2 separate regions of the Homo sapiens genome follow, and region 1 is linked to region 2. The links are contacts of gene promoters, found by promoter capture Hi-C in human tissues and cell types (Jung and others, 2019). All regions are on one chromosome and are shown on one strand. Each heading gives the region's core, a stretch centred on a gene start or on the middle of the fragment in contact. The rest is flanking DNA. Distances are from core to core; before and after follow the strand shown. Region 1 overlaps PCSK2 (proprotein convertase subtilisin/kexin type 2). Region 2 holds the start of PCSK2 (proprotein convertase subtilisin/kexin type 2).

Region 1 (5,561 bases), core at 2,287-4,786, 60 kb after region 2:
AGAAGGAACTGTCGAATTTGATGAGCACACATAGAGCTAGACTAAATGGATGGGGTGCTGAGGCTGGGCTTCCATACCTTAAGTACCTACGAATCATGTGAGTGATTAAAAGATTTCTTAGGTCAGGCCTAATTTCTAATCATCTCTCACTCAAGCCAGCATATGGCCACTGTATGAGTTCAAGAGTGAGCATTTTTTTGAAACGCAGTTAAGACTTCAGTTTCCTGCACCGAAGAACTAAGTCACTGGCAACTTGTCATGCTAGAGAAAAAGGCAGGGGACAATTCCATCTCAGGTATCATCACTTCACGTTGCTTACCCTACCTACCTAAATCCAGCTAGCATGTTTGCTCAGCCCCACGTCAGCTAGAGTAGAAATTACTTATCCACTTCTCCTCTACACAAACCTCTCTTTATGAGTACAAATAAGGAAAACAAGCCTGCCAAATGACAGTTTGTCATTGCAGGAGCCATGGCCAGAATCCACATTTCCCATATCTAATGAGTGTGACTCCAGCCATGTTCTTCATTTACATTTATATCGTTCACAGGAATCCATGTAGCCCTGACTTTTGTGGGCATTGTTATATCAACTCCACCCCCACCATTGCCATCTCATCTGGTTTGGGAGTTAACAAAGCTCTGTCATCTTCTGAGTACTGTGTGAGATGGCCCAGAAAGGTATCATTGTTCTCACTTGGGAACATTGTTCCCACTAAATGGAGAGATGGAGGTTTATGGAGCTAACAGTCAAAGAGTAGCAGTCACATCCAGGTCTTCAGCAGCACCAGGCTTGGCCCCGTATACATGAACTCTGACTGCTCCATCACTAACAAGGCACATCTAATCTGGAACTGTGCCTTATGCTTTGCTAACTGTGACATACAGCACACTATTGGCAATGGCTTTCGTCCACTCCATCCACCATCACCACTGGCTCTACTTTGCAGGAGTTATCTGATCCATTTTCTCTGTTGTTTCCTTGTGAGGGAGAGCAGACATGCACAAGCTATTGTCAAAGGACAAATTACAACAAATTTAGTTTAAAGATCTCGCTGGGCTTTATAGCAATTTTAGAATTGGTCAACACTTAATTCCATAAAATAGAATAAGTGTTCCAATGAGCCTAGCAGAAGAGGTTGGCTTTCTAGACAGAGAATGTAATTGTACTAGGTTTGTTGCCCGATGTGCATGGCAAATCAATATGCCAAGACACTGGATTGTGACAGAGAAGAGATTTAACCATAGGGCCACCAAATGAGGAAGAGGGAGGGAAAATCAAATCTGTCTCCCCAAGGAGTTTGGGGATAGAGTTTTTAAGGGTTATGGAGTGGGCTGAAGCATGGAGATTGTTGACGGGGTGAAGAGTACAGAGTGAAGTCATGGGACAGGGAGATAAAGAAACTATATTCTCACTCTGATTTCATTACTCTGTGGGGGGTTTCAAACTGGTTGGCAACAACTGTTTTGCTGGAATTCAGGATCTGGAAAACACCTTAAGCAATTCTTAAACAAAAGTCTTGTGATTTTAATGTCAGAGATCTTATCTATAGGAACAATGGGGATGCCAGTGGTCAGGATCAGTGCTCTGTGACTATCAGGTTCAAGGAAGTGGGTAAAAGTGAAGGCTGATTATTTACTCTTATTTATAACTATATTTCTGTCCAGAATTCTTCTTAACCCTGTGAGGATGGCTTCAAGAAGGGTTGAAGAAAGCAGAAACAAAGAACAAAGGATGTATTCATTATTTTTCAAAGTTACTTTTTCTTGTCGGGTGGGAACAGGGAAATAGAACAATAGAAAAATAACTGATTAGTTAACATCAAGTCATGTCAGGCTACTTATTTTGTGTAAGGAATACAGCAGAAGGAACTTTATTACCATGTCGATTGATAATTAAAACTGACCTGCTTGGAAAATGGCTGTTATTTCTGTCTCCCGATTTCTCAGAAGGCTGGATAATGTCATAGTTTAGGTTTGGTGATGTAGAACTTTAGCATGGGTGACTCTATTTTGATCTTTAGTCTGGTCTGTTGAAGTCTAGTGCAAAAGTTTAGTCCAAAACAACAACCTCCTATAATTTTTAACACTGTAAATCTCTCACTAGCCCTGAATTCTTCAGTAGACTGTATTTTGAGCTCCTGCTGCAGGCAACTGCAGACAGATTGGCCACATAAGAGCAGTAGCCTTCAGACCAAAGCTCAGAGGAAGTGCCAAAACATGTACAAACCCTGGATGGGTTCTGGCCTTGGCAATCATGAGCCACCATTACTGTTAAGGAATTAGGAGTGGAATAGTGGAATTTTCCTTGCTCCAGATTTTAAGGACACACTCAACTTCATCCAGGCCCCAGCACATCACAGACCCACCTATGAGTCAGTACTAATGGCAGTACTAGTGGCCTCAAAGGACATTTGAAGAAAAATTGTTACTTACCAGACCCCACCAGAGCTGCTGAGATGATCCCATGTAACCCTAACTACAGAGTTACCTTTAGCTTTTTTCAGTTAAATTGTATTTTATGTGAGTTTTAATTGACACAAAATATAATTTTGAAAGCCTGCAAAAAAATGCATAAATGTAAGGCAGAAATGGCCAGGACATTCCTCCAAATAACTCTGCCTGGAAAACAAAATCTTGCTGTCATTACTGGATTGTTCTTGTTTTCTCCACATGAACAAGGTTTGGATAATGAAGTAACAGCTCTTCCTGGAGCCCCATTGCCAAAAACTAGCAATAAAGGAAGACCTTACTACCTAACACATGTGGCTACTTGAAAATTATCTGAAATAAAAACAAGCCAGAATCAACATAATAGTGTATAACAAAACCCAGATGTCTCTTGAATAAAAGGTTAATCAAATGCTAATGTTAAACGAAAGAGTTTCAAAGGCAGGAGGAAGAATGTTAGAGATAAATGAAGAAATTAGGTGCAGCCTCTGTATGACTTGGAAGAGCAAGCTCTCTGCACAGGATCGTTTTTTTGTTTTTTTTAGGAAATTAAGCTTTTCTTTCACACCTAGAATGTGTCAGATGCTTTATAAGAAAGGCACTAAATACTTTTCCAGGAGCTTAATCTTCAAAGTACAATCTACTAAGATGTACCTGGAGGAAGAAAAATGTAGCAATTCTTGCAAAGCAATGCTTTGGATATTACCTTTCTGCCATATTTTGGTAGACGTTTATATATAAATCCTGGTTTGGTCAGGAATCCAGTAAGAATTTGCAATGTTTGTAAAAGCCCACCTGCTTTGCTCATGAATTGCAGAACAGCTCATGCCTCCCTCCACAGCACCCTCTGCCCTGGTCTCCATCCCAGTGAAGGGGGTTGTGCTCACAGTCTGTATCAGAATCAGTCAGGGTTCTCCAGAAAAACAGAAGCAATAGGGTGTATACATACAGGTTGTATATGTAAAGAGAGATATTTATTTTAAGGAATTGGCTTATGCAATTGTGAAGGCTGGCAAGTCCAAAATCTGCAGGGCAGGCCAGCAGGCTGGAAATGCCAACAAGAATTTATGCTGCAGCTCGAGTCCATGGCAGTCTGGAGGCAGAATTCCCTCTTCCTTAAGCGGACCATAGTCTTTTCTCCTAAAACCATAAGATAAGACCCACCCATATTTTGAGGGCAATCTGCTTTACTCAGCTCTGCTCACTTAAATGTTAATCACATCTAAAAAAAAAAAATACCTTCACAGCAACATCTAAACTAGTGTTTGACCAAACATCTGAGCCTCGTGGCCTAGCCCAGTTGACACATAAAATTAGCCACACATCCAGTGGGCAAGACAGACAAAGTCACAATAGACATCGAAGGCTACTGGCGGGGACTGAGAGAAAGTGGGGAGTCTACAAGGGTGAAGGAGAGGAAAGCACCGTGAAAAATACTTGCAAATATTTATTCATGAGGTCGGGAGGCATTTCAGGGATCTTGCACCAGCATGTGCGTGTCTGTGTGTGTGTGTGTGTGTGTGTGTGTGTGTGTTAAAATGGGGAGGAAATAAGAGAATGATACAAATGAAGCTGAGGAAGTAAACAGGTCAAGGAGGGGAGGGTGGATTCTTTCTTGTCTGCTCAAGCATAGGAGCAAGTGGGGTCATGCAATTTTATTTTATAACTAGTGGCTAAGCATCCACTTATCTTATGGAAGAAGGTCCTCAATTCTCCAAGAACCCTGGTGCTTCAGAGTCAGCAGTGCCATTAGCAACCACAGGTGGCGCTGTCCTTTCTCAGGAGAGCACCAATCCTACAACTCCTTTGGTTAAGATTATAACCCTGGCCAGCCAGTATTCCCCCAAGCCACCCTAGTGGGAGGCCTGGGGAGCCTTCCTAAGCCCCTGGGCTTTGTGTCATACCTGGCCATAAGGCTTGCCTGCCTTCATGCTCCAGATAGCTTTACTCTGGTGGCCTCGTTGCCCTTGCCTAACACCTGACCTTGATGTACCCTCCCCCAGCTCACCCTGAAAGAGCAGCCTGACTGGGAATCTGGGGATGGGGTGTTTTTCCTTTCTGTCCCAGAACGCCCTGTCTTCCTCATGCAAGGTGATGAGCTCTCACCCAAGGGCTGGCTCTGCAGGCTGGATCACACAGCTGTACATGCCCTTCCCCACTTCCCATTCTAAATCCACCTGATCAAGCTGGACTCCTTCACCAGGCCCTTCCAGGAACGGACAACTCTGCTCTGAGGAGATCCCTTCTCATGGAGGATGACTCAGCATGTCCTTTCATGCAGCTTCCATCTAACCTCTACCTCAGCAGGTGTCTGCTACCCTAGGGCACATGAGGATGCTCCCAAAGCCAGCAGAAATCCAGGACAGCATTTCAAGAAGGGGAGAGGCCAGGGATTCTGCAACATGGTCTGTCACAGAGGAGGGTGGCTTCGATGGACAGCAATAGCAAGACCAGAGCAGGTGCAATTCCAAGGGTGCAAAGACAGCTCTGGATGCTGGAGAAAGTCAATGACAGTGAGTCCCTACTCACCTGCTCCACCACTAATGGCTGCAGCAATGCCACGGCTCATGTTCTGGGCTGAATTGTTTCCCCCCAGATTCATATGTTGAAGTCCTAACCCCCAGTACCTCAGAATTAGACTGTAATTGGAGATTGGGCCTTTAAAAGGATAACTCAAATGAAGTCACTAGGGTGAGTCTTAATCCAATATAATGGGTAAACACCCATGAGAAGGGCAAATTTGGACACAGACACACAGAAGAAAGACCACAAGAAGACGTAGGAGAGGAAGGCCATCTGCAACCCACAGACAGCAGTGTGAGAAGAAACCAACCCAGATGACACCTTGATCTTGAACTTCTAGTCTCCAGAATCGTGAGAAAATAAATTTCTGTTGTTTAAGCCCCCCAGTCTATGGTACTTTGTTACAGCAGCCCTAGCGAACAAATATACTGGCTTCAATCTAAATCAACTTGCAGTTAGCAATTTCAAAAGACTGCGTGAAGCTATCCCAAAAGGCTATCCGCAAAGGAAAGCTGCGTTCTTGTGCAGTACTATTAATAGATTATAGAAGGAAATAAGGATGACAGATGTTACTGGAAACCACCTTG
Region 2 (5,314 bases), core at 1,558-4,057:
GCTCCAGGTATTGGTGATTTTTATATCTCGTGCTGTCAATCTGTTTGTGTCAGTTATTATTTTTTCAAGTACACAAAACTGATAAATATGAGACCATTTGGGGGAGGTTACACAAAAATAAGTATGCCTGTTGGCCACAATATGTTATTAAATAGTATTGTGGTCCTCAGCATTTCTCAAACTATTGATGATGCTTCCTACATTACAGCGTATGTTTTCACAACTCTTTTGAAATTATAGACTTTGGCTCTGAGGTATCTAATCCAACAGTCTCTTTTCACAGATAGAAAGATAGAGACTTTGAGAGGTGCAATATGTTGGCCCACAGCCAAGTGGTATACATACCTAGTACTAGCAGAGCCTGCAATAGGGTCCCTGGCAACAGGCTTCTAGGTCTATCCTCAAAATGTGCTGCTGCCATTCTCTCTACTGTCCACCTTGACTATTGTTATTGGAAAAAGGAGTTTGAGAAATAGTTGTCTAAAAGAGCAATTTGTGTGCACACATGGGTGTGTATTAGCATTTCAAATAACAATGTATCAATAGATATCCAAGGGATAAATACATTTCCTCTTCCACTTGCTTACTACATTGTTGTGTATTGAAAATTTAGTATTTGAATAACCAAAAAAATTATCTTTCCATTTGCTATTCTGTCCTGACAATATTATGATGAGCTGTATTTTATGTAAACCACTAAAGAGGACTTATTTTAATTAGTCATTCAGGTTTTATATCATTTCTGGCCAATTTTACACAGTTTTAGTTATTTAAAATGTAGCTATATGAGATTCAACATTTACCAGCATTTCATATTTGGAAACTATTTAAGAAATGAAGTGGCCAGGCGCAGTGGCTCACGCCTGTAATCCCAGCACTTTGGGAGGCCAAGGCGGGTGGATCACAAGGTCAGGAGATAGAGACCATACTGACTAACACGGTGAAACATGAAAACCTTGTGTTATAATCAAACGGATGGACTATGAGGGGGTAAGCTGTTAAACAATAGAGTAATAGAAAGGGGGAACAAAGGCAGAAATGAGCCTCTGAGCAGTAGTGAGCTGAGGGGCCCAGAGTTGATCTGTTTCCCTTTATTAATACTTTCACCGTGTTAATACTTTTCCAGAAACCTTGCCTCCACCATGGCCCTAAGTCCTAACAGATAGCTTAATTTTCTTAGAGGAATTCAAATAACAATAATAAATAATGTCACATAGACTTCTAATGTTTTAATAAAAACCTTCAGCAACGCCCACATTTTTACGTGACAATTTTTTAAAGGGCTATGAGGGAGCCAACTATGTCAGCAAACAGACATGCTCTGAAGACAGGGTGGTCCATGGCATTCAAAGTGTATTCATTTCTACCGATGGTGCTTTTCTTGCATAGGTTCTGACTTGTGTAGATTTGGACTTCAAGCTAAAATAAAAAGAGAGGAATATGTGTATACATGAGAATGTGTGTGTAACGTGTCGATGGTATAAATAGTCTCTTCCTCTCTCTCTGAATTGCATGCACTTAAGCCCCTAAGAAAAGATCTCTTACCTCTTATCTAAGTAAAGCAGAATTTTGAGCTTTGAAGCTAAATGATACAATGAGATCAGTGTAAATACTCTTTAACACAACAATATTTGAGTAGCTTTGAAACAGTCGTCCTCATTTCGTTACATACAGAACGTTCGTGCTTCCTCCCTCTCAGGCAAGAAGCGGAGTCCGTCGTCAGCAGTTAGCAGAGTCCAGTGCGAGTGCACGTTTCTTAACCGGATAACTTAGTTGCCCCTGCCCCCCGTCGCTGCGCCCGAATTCGCCTCCAGTAGAAGACGTTCAGCGGGCGACTTGGCCCGGCGCCTGGGATCGGTGGCTATGCGTTCCCCAACTAGCACCCTCGCTGTCCTTGTGCAGTGGAACGTCCCCAGGTCTGAGAATGCACCTCCCGCCGTGTCCACCCCGGCCGCGTCTCTCCTGAAGGCAGATCTTGGAGGTGCAGCCAGGACTCCTAGAGGAGCCTCCTCCAGTCACCATCGCGGGTGGGGCGAGCCGGGTCTCCTGCTGGGCTTCCCAGCCGCTTCGCTCCGGACCTGCCTGGAGCCTACAAAAAACAAGGGCTCGTCCTTGCACTCTCGCCCCCCATGGATCACCCCTAGAAGGTGCTTTCCCCAACCCTCCTGGTGCCAAGGAGAGCAAACCTCCCCGGGGATTTGCCCAAAGTGGTGGGAGGAGGGTTAATATTTGCTTTGTTATTCGGATAAGGGGAGGCAAGTATGCCTTGGGTGTGTGTGTGTGTGTTTGAGAGAGAGAGAAAGAGAGAGAGAGAGAGAGAGAGGTGTTTTTGCAGCGGGAAACAAGCAGGAAGAGGCACAGAGGCCGGCGCCCCTGCTCCCCTCGGGGCCTCTGAGAGCGGCACACACCGTAATTCCCTTCCCAGAGCCTACAGATTCCCACAAACAATGACATCACTCCGCCGCCGCTGGCCTGATTACAGCTGGGGGGATTTTCCTGGGCGCGCGGCGGGCCAGGCTGAGATGGGGGAGCTCTCCGGTGCTGAAAGGGGCGGGGGCGCGGGCTCGCTGCGCTGCGCTGCGCTGCGCTGCGCCCCCAGAAGGCGGAGGCGGCCGGGCCGGGCCGGGCCGGGGGTGGGCGGGGGCGGGCCCGGGGCGGCCCAGGGCGGGGCCCGCCGCTTCCCCCGCCCTCATTGGCCGCTGGCGGACTCACGTCACCCGAGCTGGTGCTCTCCCCCAGCCCCTAGGGAATTGGAGCTGAGGAGGAGCTGAAAATGCAGATTTAGCATCAAGCACAGACCTACACTCGCTCTTTCTCTCCGGTACACACAGCTCCCCACATTCGCACCCCTGCCCGCGCGCCGGGCCGCCTGACTGCACGGCTTCCCCTCCAGCCAGATGCTGGAGAACACACACTGATTCGCTGCTTTCCAAGACCCTGTTCAGTCTCTTTCTCTATACAAAGATTTTTTTAAAAACTATATATAAGAATTCTTTATTTGCACCCTCCCTCCGAGTCCCCTGCTCCGCCAGCCTGCGCGCCTCCTAGCACCACTTTTCACTCCCAAAGAAGGATGAAGGGTGGTTGTGTCTCCCAGTGGAAGGCGGCCGCCGGGTTCCTCTTCTGTGTCATGGTTTTTGCATCTGCTGAGCGACCGGTCTTCACGAATCATTTTCTTGTGGAGTTGCATAAAGGGGGAGAGGACAAAGCTCGCCAAGTTGCAGCAGAACACGGCTTTGGAGTCCGAAAGGTAAGCTCTCCCATGCATTTCGCATGTTGTTTCAAAACGGGGGGACGGGGGGGCAGCCCTGCGCAATCTCATTGCAGATTTGCAAGTTTTCTCTCTTTCTCATGCGATGCAGATATTCTGCCATGGGCTCTTTAACACGATATTGCCTCCGGTGATCTTTCACCGGTTATGTAATTAAAATGTCCTTCATCTGTACTAGTAAGGTCATCAAAATAATTTACTGCTCTTTGACTTGATGGCGAAAATAGGATAACACCTTTCACAGGATGCCATGCTCCGGGGATGCTGTCCGAGGTACCAAGTTCTCGAGGCTGCCTGGGGATGGAGGGATGAAGCCCTGAACAGCTAAGCCTGGCGTTGGCTACTTGGCCAGGGAAGTCTCCCCCACCCCCATCCCCCGGAGAAAGAATAGTTTCCTACAGACGAGGCTGGACGTTTGGACACTGCAATTCACCTCGGTGTTTCTCCCACCCCGCGCCGGGAGGACTTCCCTCCCAGGGACTTCGGTCCCTGCTCCTCTCCGGGAACAACGGCTTCCTGACTCTAGATTTGGAAAGAAACTGGTCTCTAAAATCGGGGCGGAACTTCTGCGCCCTCACCCCCGCCCACGACCGCCCACCCCTGGAGCGCACTTCTGGTTGGCTCCCTAGTTCTCAACTCCCGGCTACAGGAGCTGGAGAGGTGGATTTTGAGGGGGATTCCCTACGGAGAAGTCGAGGTGTCCTCTCCTGATGCGTGGGCGGCCAGCCTGGCTTTCCCACTAGAGCGTGGGGATCCCCATTCCAAGAAGTTGCCAGAGTTCGACAGTTTGAGCAGATAGGTGAGCCTCCCAGCTTTGGACACCTTGGATCTCCTTTGGAGACTCCAGGGTACTCATCCTGGGAGGACAGAGAGAAGGGCGCTGGGTGGGGGCTGTGGCTGACCTGCGTGTCTCTCCTGCAAAAGATGTATCAGGGTTCTCCAGTGTCCTTAGGGGACCTGGCGCAGGCTGGGGTGGAGTGTGGGTGCAGAGAGAAGGTGGGGCGAGGGGAACCCAAAGGACAGAGATGTGGCTACCAGAGGGCTGGGTGGAGGTCCCTGAGATTTTAGGCTCCATCTCGCTCCTGATCCCAGGAAGAGAGAGGAGTGAGATGAGCGGTGGGTGCTTTTGGTTATTGGTTTTGCCTTGAAGGGCCGCGCAGACCGAAGCTCTTATTAGTCTCTTCTGTCCTGACTTCCCAAGCCTCCCGCCTCTCTCCCAGCCACCGCCAGGGCTCCTCCAGGTGTGGGGGCCTCTCCCTCCTCCTAAGGGCGTAGGCAGTACCGGAATTTCGACCCCAGAAGGGTCTGGCGACGAGTTTGACAGAGGTCTGGGAAGAGGCTCTGGGTCCGCCGGTGGCGCGCGGGCGGGTCTTGCGGAAAGGAACTTGTTGCTCTGGAAAGCGTGGGTGGAGCAGGGGAAAGAAGGCGCCGGCGGAGGGAGCACCCCGCTGTGGTTTTGGCCCGTGGCCTGCCGGCTGTTTTGAGAGACACCAACACAATAAAGAAGCCGACCTTCCTTCTTCACTCCCCCCCACCCCAAACTTGGCAAGACCCAGGACCCAAACGCCATTATAAAATATAATAGTGATTATTATTAGTTATACGGAAGCTTACGTGCTGGAGTCCTTACATAGATTTTTACTTAATCTTCTCAACATCTCTGAGGAGGCTACTATCATTATTGAGCCTATGGCCCCGTTGAGGAAATTGGTTCAGAAAAGGGTGCGAGATAAAAACAGGCAAGGGCTTCAATCCAGATCTTTCAGAAGTGAACCCATGCTCTTTACTCCTTAGTACCCACCCAAGCAAGCTAGGTGCTTTCAGGGGATGTGGGGCATTGAGATAAGTTGAAAAGGGATTTTAATTCTTGAGTGTGATCTTGCTGCAGAAACCTGTGGCTCCCTCCCCCTCCCCCACACCTTTTCATGGGTGCGGGGGAGTGGGAGGGAGCCATAGGTTTCTGAAAACCATTGTTCTCAGTGGTTTTCTCTTCTCTTTGCTGCCCCCTTTGAAAATGTGCCCTTAGGATCAGAGATCAGATAA

The links. Contacts are between HindIII fragments. The study calls those that stand out against the background at their distance.
Region 1: a fragment that was not itself captured here is called in contact with the fragment with the promoter of PCSK2 in region 2 in 2 of the 25 tissues and cell types used here (aorta and spleen).

Annotation. Positions count from the first base shown.
Region 1 is chr20:17,283,480-17,289,040 of GRCh38, forward strand. All of the region lies in intron 2 of PCSK2 (proprotein convertase subtilisin/kexin type 2), which reads left to right. All of the region lies in intron 2 of LOC105372546 (a long non-coding RNA gene), which reads right to left. Among named protein-coding and RNA genes, the nearest start is that of PCSK2, 59 kb to the left of the region's middle. The HindIII fragment of the contact is 5,054 bases long and covers 1,010-5,561 here.
Region 2 is chr20:17,224,233-17,229,546 of GRCh38, forward strand. It overlaps PCSK2 (proprotein convertase subtilisin/kexin type 2), which reads left to right and starts at 2,808. Exons shown (of 12, transcript NM_002594.5): 1 at 2,808-3,250. The coding sequence starts at 3,074. The HindIII fragment of the contact is 16,215 bases long and covers 1-5,314 here.